Linked DNA regions of Homo sapiens: regions 1, 2 and 4 are each linked to region 3. Evidence: promoter capture Hi-C in human tissues and cell types (Jung and others, 2019). All regions are on one chromosome and are shown on one strand. The core of a region is centred on a gene start or on the middle of the fragment in contact, and the rest is flanking DNA. Distances in the headings are between cores, read along the strand shown.

Evidence for each region. Contacts are between HindIII fragments. The study calls those that stand out against the background at their distance.
Region 1: a contact is called between a fragment that was not itself captured here and the fragment with the promoter of FARP1 in region 3, in 1 of the 25 tissues and cell types used here (mesenchymal stem cells).
Region 2: a contact is called between a fragment that was not itself captured here and the fragment with the promoter of FARP1 in region 3, in 1 of the 25 tissues and cell types used here (dorsolateral prefrontal cortex).
Region 4: a contact is called between a fragment that was not itself captured here and the fragment with the promoter of FARP1 in region 3, in 1 of the 25 tissues and cell types used here (dorsolateral prefrontal cortex).

The regions. Positions count from the first base shown.
Region 1 is chr13:98,653,672-98,656,386 of GRCh38, reverse strand. No RefSeq gene overlaps it. Among named protein-coding and RNA genes, the nearest start is that of STK24-AS1, 78 kb to the right of the region's middle. The HindIII fragment of the contact is 8,885 bases long and covers 1-2,715 here.
Region 2 is chr13:97,430,014-97,432,842 of GRCh38, reverse strand. No RefSeq gene overlaps it. Among named protein-coding and RNA genes, the nearest start is that of RAP2A, 2.7 kb to the left of the region's middle. The HindIII fragment of the contact is 3,559 bases long and covers 1-2,829 here.
Region 3 is chr13:98,141,825-98,144,524 of GRCh38, reverse strand. It overlaps FARP1 (FERM, ARH/RhoGEF and pleckstrin domain protein 1), which reads right to left and starts at 1,431. Exons shown (of 27, transcript NM_005766.4): 1 at 1,033-1,431. LOC105370328 (a long non-coding RNA gene) reads left to right here and starts at 615. Exons shown (of 3, transcript XR_931670.4): 1 at 615-686. RefSeq lists silencers at 1,381-1,690, 1,931-1,980. The HindIII fragment of the contact is 5,274 bases long and covers 1-2,700 here.
Region 4 is chr13:98,856,069-98,858,782 of GRCh38, reverse strand. All of the region lies in intron 33 of DOCK9 (dedicator of cytokinesis 9), which reads left to right. Among named protein-coding and RNA genes, the nearest start is that of DOCK9-AS1, 25 kb to the right of the region's middle. The HindIII fragment of the contact is 8,191 bases long and covers 1-2,714 here.

The DNA of each region.
Region 1 (2,715 bases), core at 8-2,507, 510 kb before region 3:
CCTCTGAACCTTGTCTGCTGTGAAGACTTTCTTGGCATTCAAGGCTTGCATTTATCCCTGGACTTTGATGTTCAATCCTAGCGTGTACGACTTCTGTAACTAAGCCAACATGGCGGCAAATGCCTGTAGTCCCAGATACTTGGGAGGCTGAAGCTGGAGCATGGCTCGAGGTCAGGAGTTCAAGACCAGCCTGGGCAACATAGACAGACTCCCGCCTCTTTAAAAAAAAAAAAAAAAAAAAAAAAAAAGCCGGCACAGGGGCCCACGCTTGTAATCCCAGCACTTTGGGAGGCTGAGGCGGGTGGATCACTAGGTCAGAAGTTCAAGACCAGCCTGGCCAACACAGTGAAACCCCATCTCTACTAAAAACACAAAAATTAACTGGGCCTGGTGGCGGATGCCTGTAATTCCAGCTACTCGGGAGGCTGAGGCAGGAGAATCACTTGAAAGGTGGAGGTTGCAGTGAGCCGAGATCACACCACTGCACTCCAGCCTGGGCAACAGAGCTAGACTCCAACTCAAAAAAAAAAAAAAACACCCAAGACTCCTACCTCTTTAAAACAACAACAACAACAACAACAACAACAGACTCTGTACTCTAGACTTCCCTGTCCAGCCTCAAGTGTGAGTTCCTACACTCCTGGTCGTGGATCTGCCCAAACTTCCTCCTCCTACTTCTCCCCGTGGTCTTCTATCCTCCAACGTGAACAAAGAGTTCATGGACCAGGTCAGGCCTAGAGGCCTCAAAGTCACTGTTAGAATCCCCAAGAGGCAGCCTCACAAGACTCAGGTGATGATGCCAGCTCTCTCCCTAGTCTAGTGGTTTTCAAAGTGTGGTCCCTGGACCAGCAGCATCAGCAGCCTCTGAGAACAACTTAGAAATGCGCCTTCTCAGGCACTGCCACAGCTGTATTGAATCAAACACTCTGCTTTAACCCTCCACACTTGTGCTTTAACGAGTCTCCAGATGATTCTGATATGGAGAGGGGAAGTGCGCAGGGATTTCAAGGAAGGCTTTCCTGACGTCTGTGTGGTTCAGGCTGTCACCCTGAGAATGCACAGCCCTCAGTTGGCCCCCTGGAGCCACAGCCCTGGAATTTGGGGACTATATCAGGAAGTCACTCAAATACCCCAAAACAAGAGTCAAAGATTTCCTGAAACGGGACCTTCAGGGAGACAAACGGGATATGGCTCAAGCCATCCTGCATCCACACCACTTCCAAGCCCGCATGCTCCACTGGAAGCCATCATCTTCCTCCACTCCAGCAAACAGACCACATTGTAATGATCCCAAGGACCACCTGACGCAGACCTGGATGAGAAAAGTTGATCCAGGAAATCCAGGACTAGGGGTAAGGGCCCTAATTTTATTTGTTTATTTTTTTCAAGATGGAGTCTCACTCTGTCGCCCAGGCTGGAATGCCGTGGCTCGATCTTTGCTCACTGCAACCTCTGCCTCCTGGGTTCAAGCAATTCTTGTGCCTCAGCCTCCAGAGTAGCTGGGATTATAGGCGCCCACCACCACGCCTGGCTAATTTTTGTATTTTTAGTGGAGATGGGGTTTCACCATGTTGGCCAGGCTAGTCTCGAAATCCTGACCTCAGGTAATCCGCCTGCCTTAGCCTCCCAAAGTGCTGGGATTATAGGTGTGAGCCACCGCGCCCGGCTATATGTATTTTAATTTCTGTTTGTCTTTATTTTTTCATATATACGTGTGTGTGTGTGTGTGTGTGTGTGTGTGTGTGTGTGTAGTATGTAGGTATGTATGTACTGAGCTCCAAGATACCTGGAAAGATGTAAATTAGAATTAGTTCTAATGTTCTAATCTCAAGTTAATTAAGTATATTACTGCTACTGACTCATGCTCCAGGCACTGTACTTGGAGTTTCGTGGTTGATCCTCAGAACAACCATGTGTGGAAAATATCTATTGATGGAGGGCTGTGGAATGGTGGAAGAGCTGGCCGGCAGTCGGATCAGCTGGGATATCTGTTGATGGAGGGCTGTGGAATGGGGGGAAGAGCTGGCCGGCAGTCGGATCAGCTGGGATATCTGTTGATGGAGGGCTGTGGAATGGGGGGAAGAGCTGGCCGGCAGTCGGATCAGCTGGGATATCTGTTGATGGAGGGCTGTGGAATGGTGGGAAGAGCTGGCCGGCAGTCGGATCAGTGGGGTATCTGTTGATGGAGGGCTGTGGAATGGTGGAAGAGCTGGCCGGCAGTCGGATCAGTGGGGTGTCTGTTGATGGAGGGCTGTGGAATGGTGGGAAGAGCTGGCCGGCAGTCGGATCAGCTGGGATATCTGTTGATGGAGGGCTGTGGAATGGGGGGAAGAGCTGGCCGGCAGTCGGATCAGCTGGGATATCTGTTGATGGAGGGCTGTGGAATGGGGGGAAGAGCTGGCCGGCAGTCGGATCAGCTGGGATAGCTGTTGATGGAGGGCTGTGGAATGGGGGGAAGAACTGGCCAGCAGTCGGATCAGCTAGGTTTGGGTCTAGTTTGCGGCTAATCACAAACTGTTACATGGGAGATATGTAGTACTGAAATTGGGGGCTTTTGCTGATGGCCAAAAAAACAAAGGTGCTCAATGAATAAATCTTGGTGAAGAGTGGATCCCTCCATTTTACACATAAGGAACAAAAAGCTTTGGAGAGGTCAGCCAGAGGTTCTCAGCACCGGCTGTGCACGAGAGTCACCTGGAGGGTTTTAAATGCCCA
Region 2 (2,829 bases), core at 87-2,586, 710 kb after region 3:
ACGTCGCCTCCGTGGCATTCTGCCTAAATGATGGGCATGGAAATGGTGCTGAGGGATGTGGGCTGAATCGAGAACACAGGGACTTTTGTCTTCAGGGTGAGAAATGTTCCGGTCCTTAAGGAAACATCGTGCAGCAGTTGCATGGGTCTTCCAGGCGTTCCTCCCAAAACATTATTTTTTTTCTTTCACTATTGAGTTTTAAAACTTAGCGTTCTGTCGCTAGCATTGCATCTTAGTTACACATCCTCTCCCACCCATAACGTCAAATTTAGGAGACGATACATCCCCAAGCTTTCCTGCATTATTTTTTGCAGTAACTGGTTATTCAGTTTACTTTCTTTAAACTATGTCCTTCTCAAACTAGTCTCACCTGTTCGTTACTGTCGCACATTTCCTGCGAATAACACGTTTCTGTAGTTCTGTTGTTAGAGCCTGGCATACCTCTCCCCGTTCCTCTTTCCCACAAGGTCATCATGCAGAGGGGATTTTGGTCTGAGTTAAAAGCCAGGTATTCTTTCACCATCTTTTCTGTCGATAGTCAAACTACTACAAAGACTACTCAAATTTAGTAGTTTCTTATTTCCCTATAGCTTCGTTATATTAGAATGGATAACTTATATTTGCATTACCTTGCTGTAATGAACACACACCAAGTTTTCATTTAAAATTATCAAGGACAAATGTCCTCTGAATTTAAAAATGTGTATGTAGTAAAATATAACTCAGCATTTCTTGATTACATATCATTAAAATATGAATGGTACTATCTGAGCCACCAGAATCAGCAGTGAAGGTATTATATTAATAAAAAGGACTAAGAATCAGGACTGTTTTAAGGGAACTGGAACCGAAGAGGATCTACTATTTCATCCTAGGCTAGTTAACATGAAATAGTGAATTAAAATTGAAAGAGCTTACATGGATGCTTCATATCTGAGCTACTTTGGCAGGGATGTTTCAAGAGGATGTAGGTAAGTATGGTGTTCACCTAGCTTTCCAGAAGTCTCATATTTTGTGTAAAATTGGTATGCTTATTCATGGTTACTTTGGGTTAGTAGAAGCTATACTTCTTTTCCAAGGAAAGACAGACTGTCTTAAGATTCTAACTGTGCATCTTGGTGATAAGAAGTTCTTAGGGTTGTTAAATAGAGCCAGGAAGCGTGAAGCTTTCTCTCTAGATCATGACAACTCATCTAGTACCTTGCATTACAAAGGAGCTCTAAGTCCATTTACTTTGCAAGGAATGAAGTTCCAGTGATTAATGTTTTTGAGAAATTTGTATTGGGATTGTGGGGTCCAGAAGGTTGCCTTAAGTAACTGTTTTCATGACTCCTAGGTCCCTAGATGTTGAGAAGCTCTGGATTGAAGCTGTCACAAAAATAGTGAGTGGGCTCCGTAGTCACTCCATTTAGCATAATACAGAGTAGGACAGCTTTGTGACATTTCTCAGGCTATTTCCCCTGACCTCTCATCAATGCTGACGTTTTTGATAAGAAGGGGTATAGAGACTGCAGCCCTTGGGGTGGTTACAGTTCATTTATTTACAGGCCTTATATTGACAGGCCTCAGATTTCATGCTCAGTACCATAAAGGTTGATTTTTAACCACCAAGAGGCAAAAGAAACATGACAGGTCGGAGCATATTTTCTCACCTATTCTGGCTTAAATGATGGTACTTACCTGATTTGTGGTTGTAGGTGAAATGTTGGGTGAAAGATTAGCTGCTATAAAAAGGATGTCAGGACGTGTAGAGAATTTAGAGGACTTGGGTGGGAGATGGATGTCTATTTTCTAACCCCTTAGTCATGTTCATTCCGATGCCAGCATAAACTCTATTTTGAGATGATTATAGAAATAACTTATATCTTCATTTGTTTGTGGGAAATAAAAAATAAAAATGATATAAAAGAAATTTGAATTATTCCCAAGAGCTGTAAATCTGTAAGATAGTGAAAACTTAACGCAGTAACTGACACTGCAGGATCCCTTTAGTTTCCAAAGTGCATTGCCAGGAGAATAAAAAGAAAGAAAATCTTCATTTCTCCTCTCTCCACTAAATCTGAAAGGGAGTTATCTCACCTATAGCCAGATACCTTCAATTATCGCACTTGTGTTACCGTGGAAACCCAAGTCCATCCTTTCTTTCTGTAAAAGGTGTTGGAAAAGGTGGTATGAAGTGGGAAAGGTACTGTATTCTGGGACTTCCTGACACCAGCAAGAAGCAAATATGCAGATAATTTAATAGAAACAAATTAGTAGAGGATGTTTGTAATGCGAGGGGTACTTTTCGACTGTAAAACCCTGATTCCTAATGCTTCTTATTAAAGCCTGCATGCCTCTGATTAAACATAAAGGGGAAGGGCATGTCAAGTACATTTAGCACCTGTGAAACGCTGCTGGCAAGTATAAGGAGAGCAGACGATGGTTTCTTGACCTGTGAGGCTCCTAATACAGTTGAGAATCTGCAGTATATATGTGGAGTGGAAAGGAAGGGGCAAAATAAACTTTGTTCTTCCTTTAAAAAATGTGATATGTCTCAGTGCTTTTGAAAAGAAAAGGAATTAGAATGCAGAAATTAAGAGTATGGAAACAACTCAATAAAAGAAACGTATGGGTGGAGAGAGTAGATGTTTCAAAAGGCCATTTTAATCAGAAAAAAAATCTGAAAGAAAAGACGTAATGATTAAAATGTAGGCAGAAAAAAGAAAAAGCCTGAAGAATCTTAAGAGCTAGAGGATTCTGCGGAAAACAGAGCTTCAGTGTGGTTCATTTAACAAAGCAGAAGAGCAGGCACAGTGTTGCTTGCGTACCCAGCAGTTTCCCTTTATT
Region 3 (2,700 bases), core at 182-2,681:
TAAACTGACAAGGAGAAGAGCCTTAACAACAATATAATGAAACGGCCAGAGGCCACCGGTACTCCCCAGGGCTGGGAGAGACAGGGAGGCCGAGGCTGCTAAACTGTTCCAGATGACAAGCAGGCTCTCCCACGTCTCCACGAACTGATCAGATACCAGGGCCTCGCTTCTTTGTGAGCCTCAGCTCCCTCCTTTCTGGGGAACCCTACTCGATCCCCAACAGCCGCTGGCCTCCAGCTGCCACAAACGAGATCCAGACTCATTACAGGGAATTCGTATTTCCCCCCCTCAAATAAAACACACACACACACACACACACACAGAGTCTCCGGGGTCCAGCCGGATCACACAGCTAAAGTTTCCGGAACTTGAATCGTAAAACCACAATCAGAAGTTGTTTGGAAATACTCGCCGCAAAGCAATCTGTCCTTTGCTTTAAAAAATAAAAAATAAAAAAAACTTTGCCCTGCATAAAGGCAGACAGTAAAGAGAGACACAAATCTAACTTGGGCAGAGGGTGTGTTCCTCTTTGTCACCCGCCGGGAACCCTCGCGCCGCGCGTGGGCGAGCGGCGGGCACCCGGCGGCATCCGCGCCAGCGGCCACCTCCCCGGCCCGCAACCGGCCTCAGGGGCCGAGATTGCGGCCCGAGGTCCGGAAGCGGCGTCCAGCGCTGTCAGCGGGCGGGTAGGACGGAAGGAAACGGGGGAAGGGCGCCGGGGTCGGGGGAGGCGAGCGGGGACCGGCGCGGAGCCCCGCAGCCCGACGTCGGCGGAGGTGAGGGGAGAGGGGCGCAGGGGGCAGCCCGGAGCCCCGAGGCCCCCGAGCTCCTGCGATGGTGGCCGGGGCTGCCCGGGCCCGACCCGCCGCCCGACTGCGCAGGGCAGGACCTCGGGGACCACGCGCCCACCTTCGCCCGCAGCCGCGGCCGTGCGCTGCGGGAGCCTGGACTCGCACAAGTTGCCGCCCGCGGCCCGGACCCCGCCGGCCCCCGCCCTCCCGCCGCGGTCATTGTTCACCGCGCGCCTCCTACCTCCACAGCGCCGGCGGCTGCGGCGGCTCCCTCTCCCGGCTCGGGCTCCGGGATCGGCGGCTCCCAAGCCCCCGGCGGCCGAGGGCGCGGCGGCGCCGGCTATTAATACCCGCGGGCGGCGGCGGCGCGGGCGCGCGAGCAGGGCTGGCGGTGGCCGGCTGAGGTCCGAGCCATCAAAGGTGGCGCGGGGCGGAGGGGAGGGCGGAGCAGGCGGGGTGGGTGGGGAGCGGGCTCCGGGTCGCCATGGCCGCCTCGACGCCGGGGCCAGCGCTACTCGCGCAGGGAGGAGCGGCGCAAAGCGGGCAGCGGCCGCGTCCCCGCCCCGCGCCCCAGCCGAGCGCCCGCACCGCTGCGCCCGCGCCGGACCCGCCGCCTCTGAGGCCGGCGAGCGGGAAGTGCAGTGGCCACCGCCCCTCCCCGGGTCTGGGCCGGCCCCTCGGCGGGGGGAGGCGGGCGCCGCGCAGCCCGAGCAGCGGGGACGCGGGAGAGCCACAGCCCCCTCCAGCGTCCGGGCCCGCGCCCTGCGCCCGCCCCGCCCCGCTCCGCTCCGCCCGGGCAGGTGCGCCCAGGGGCCTCCCGAGCCCAGCGCGCCGCCGGGGATCTGCGCCTCTCTTGGGCTTCCGGCCAGGGCCGGGCTCCGCGCGGCGCTACCTAATGCAGCGCGGGGAGCGCCACTGGCGAGACGCGAATCCAGCAGCTGTGGCGAAAAACGAACCGGGGAGAGCGGGAGACGTGTGCACGGCGAAGCCGGGAGCGGCAGGCGGGCGGTCAGGGGCTCGGACTCTGCAGGTCGCTTTTTGAGGTCCTGCCTGGGGCTGCTTCGCCTGCGACGTCGCGCGGGGAGGACAGTCTTCAGGGACCCACCGAGCCCTCCCCTCCCCCGGAGCCACAGGCACGGGCTTCCGGCACCACCCCGGGCTGCGCGGGACTTAAGCTTGGGGGAGCGGCGGCCACCCCGCGCCCGCCCACGTCCTGGCCCAGCGCCCTCCGCCCGAGCGAATCCCATGACAGTTCCCGCCCGCCCAGCCTCGGGGGACAGTGCCCTTGGGGAATGGCGTGGGGGAGGTTAGGAGTGGCTTGCGGTGCTTGAGAGCCTTCGGGGTTTCGGGAACTCTACGGAGCGGGGAGCAAGATTCAGGACCCAGGAGGCAGCGATCTAGGGGCACAGTCACCGTCCCCACCCAGCAGCTGCCGCGTTACCTTCTCTTCCCCCTTCTGAGCCTCCAGTCCCTCTCTCTAAGCGTGGCGGGAAGAGGCCTAGGGCGCAGCAAGTGACGTTCTGCCAGACCCGGGGCTAGCGGATTCCGGCCTTCGGAGGCCACTGGCTCAGAACCGTGGGCCTTTTGCGTCTTACAGGAGTTCCCTGACCTCAGACCGAGAGGGCAGATTTCACGGGAGAGGCCTCAAGTGAACTCACAGCTGGACAGGAGCTGGGCAGAAGTGGAGTGTAGGGACCCTGATAGAAGGGCGGGTTGAGACAAGAACAGGGGTCTTGGAAGTAGGGGGTGCTTGTGGGCAGCTCCTGGGGAGGAGCAGAGATGTAATACTTGCAGATTTGGTGGTCTGTGGTTGAAGAGAAGAAATGGTGGGTTTGAGGCTTTGCTCTGTCAGCCCAACCAGCTGTGTGTCACAGATCAGATTTTTTTCTGCTCGTGATTCTCTAAGTGT
Region 4 (2,714 bases), core at 112-2,611, 710 kb before region 3:
CCAATTGCTCCGCACTGACATTGCAGCTGTGAAAAGTACTTGAAACTGACTTAATCCTTTTTCACTCTTGAATTTTAAGATCCAAATCCACTTTTCATAGGAATTCACCTCGACAGGCTTATTATACTCAGGTTATCTATATTGCCTCCTTTCTTGAAGATTTAAATCCCTGTTCTCTTTTAGGAGTACCTTCCAGGGAAGCCTCATCTTTGAACTGGGTTTACTAGTTTTTTTCTGGCAGCTTTAACAATTCTTTGTTCATCAGGGAGTTTCTAGCTAATTTTAGTCCTGGTGCTTCTCCTTCAAGAGCAAACTCTCCTTACATCTCTGTTAGAAGAATCCTGTTTCCACACATACTGAGAATGTGCCGTCACAGTTTTTTAAATGTCTTTGGATCATGGTGCCTGAGAGTTTTAAAAGTGATTCACTGCCTGGATAAAAACTACTCTGAGATTACATTCATTTTAAAAGGCAAGCGTCCTGAGGCTCAGGGTTTCTTTTTCCACCTACTCAGTGGTACCAAGGGAAGAGGGACGAATTTATCTTCTTTTCATTTTACTCAAGTGTCGTTTAAGGACTTTAAAAGCTATGCACTGGGCCAGGATATTAAATACAAACACATACACAAAGACATAAAAATAGGAACAAACTAAGCATATTGATTTTGATATATTGCATTTCCATCTGTTTGTCTTAAATTAGGACTCTAGTTCTGGAATCAAGCTTGAGACTCTGAGAACTTAGGGCCTAATTTTACTTTACTGAGGACCTCTTTCTCTTGAGTTCTGTGTTCTTTTTCATGACTTCTGTGTTCTTCAAATGCTGTTCTACATTAAATATGAAATATGATTATATTAGAAAAATTATAATTTGGTCATAGCATGTGTTTCTTATCTGAGTACAGAAAAAGGCCATAGTTTTTTCACAGGGTTTTTACCTGTCCCTTGCGACAATCATTCACATGGTTTCTCTCCTGGGGAGACGCAGCCACTGGCTGACAATAAGGCTTAATGAAACCATGTTCAAGCCTTTGCTTCTTTTTTCAAATTCTCCTGGCTCTTCTTTTCTTGATCTTTAATACACTGAATCAGTTTCAGGGATAGCAGTGAATAAATCTGAGTGTTCAACAGAGGGAAGGATTTATGACCTTGATGTCACAGGTCTTCCTTCTAAGGTTAAAGAGTTAAAGACTGACCAGGCACGGTGGCTCATGCCTGTAATCCCAGCACTTTGGGAGGCCGAGGTGGGCAGATCACCTGAGGTCAGGAGTTCGACACCAGCCTGGCCAACATGGTGAAAACCCGTCTCTACTAGAAATACAAAAAAATTAGCCAGGGTTGGTGGCAGTCGCCTGTAATCACAGCTACTTGGGAGGCTGAGGCAGAGGAGTCACTTTCAAATATACTTTTGGTGTAACCTAGAGGCTGGCTATATTTATTTTGTTGTTTATTTATTTTTTAACTTAGAAGTATCCCAGTCCATGGCAGCTCATTTGCCTACTGAGATCTGAAAACAACCAGCCTGTTGTGAAGTGCCAAGTAATGGCATCTTCAGCTTGCGTCTGGGAGAATGTGTGCTCACAGCTGCCAGACACAGAGTCCAAATCTCCTGATGCCATCTGCCAAACCAGCCAGGCCTTTCCGCTGGAGGCACGCCTTTTGGTTCAGCACGGAATGTACAAGTCCAAAGAGTCGTTTTAAATTATGTGATTTATTTAAATCTTATCTAAGCAGGAAGTCAATCTATTACCTTAAAAAATTCCATAGTACCAAGATAGGGAGTGATTTCTGCCTTCAAATACTGTTTTTTTCATGGACATCACAAATTTTATTTCCACATTAGATTTCCTTTCTGCTCATAGTTGTTTATAGCAGATTCCCAGATATTCCCCGTTCACAGCACCCTTAGTGTCACTTTATTTCGTGGCATCCCTAGGCTGAAAGACACACCCAGCAGTTCTCTTTATTAGGTACTTAGGACCAAATAACTTAATAAGTACTTACATCCTAACAATTTAGTAGGCACTTAAAAGAAATAATACACATAAATTTAAAGGAAACAATTAATTTTATTTTTAATAACCACAACTCACTACAAATGGGTGGTGTGTACCTGTTGGACACTGACAGCTTCTCAGCCTTTGGGTCAGATTGGCCAGCACCATTCGCATTTCCTGTCCCTCATTGATTACTTGCCTTTTATCATAGCAGGCCCCCAAATACCCAGCTTCACAAATATGTCTTCAAAAGGAGCATAGCACAACCTGCTGCTGAAACAGCAGCTTCTGGCTGAGGTCACATATCACTGTGTTCTCCTCGAAAATTTAAAATACCCCATGACACCCCTCAGAGTTGGGTAGGCTCCTCAGTGTTTATTACCAGTTTGAATGCTACAAGTTTGTTGTGTGGTTTAATTTTGTGATTTGATAGTTGTAGGTGGATTTATCTTTTAATTTTTTTAAGTCTTCATTCTATCACATTCTGAAACAGGTATGCATTTAGTCTTTAGCGATCAAAGGTGGTTTCTAACAAGTGAATTGATGTTTACATCTGAATGTTTCAGACTAGTTTCTTTTTATCTCATTGTATATGACCTGGTTCTTTAAAGGTGAAGTAATGGAATGCAACTCTTGAGCCAACTTCCTAACAGAAAAAATAAGTGCAATAAAAGCAATTTCCCTTAAAGTTCAGTACTCATCTTTATTTTGTTCTGTC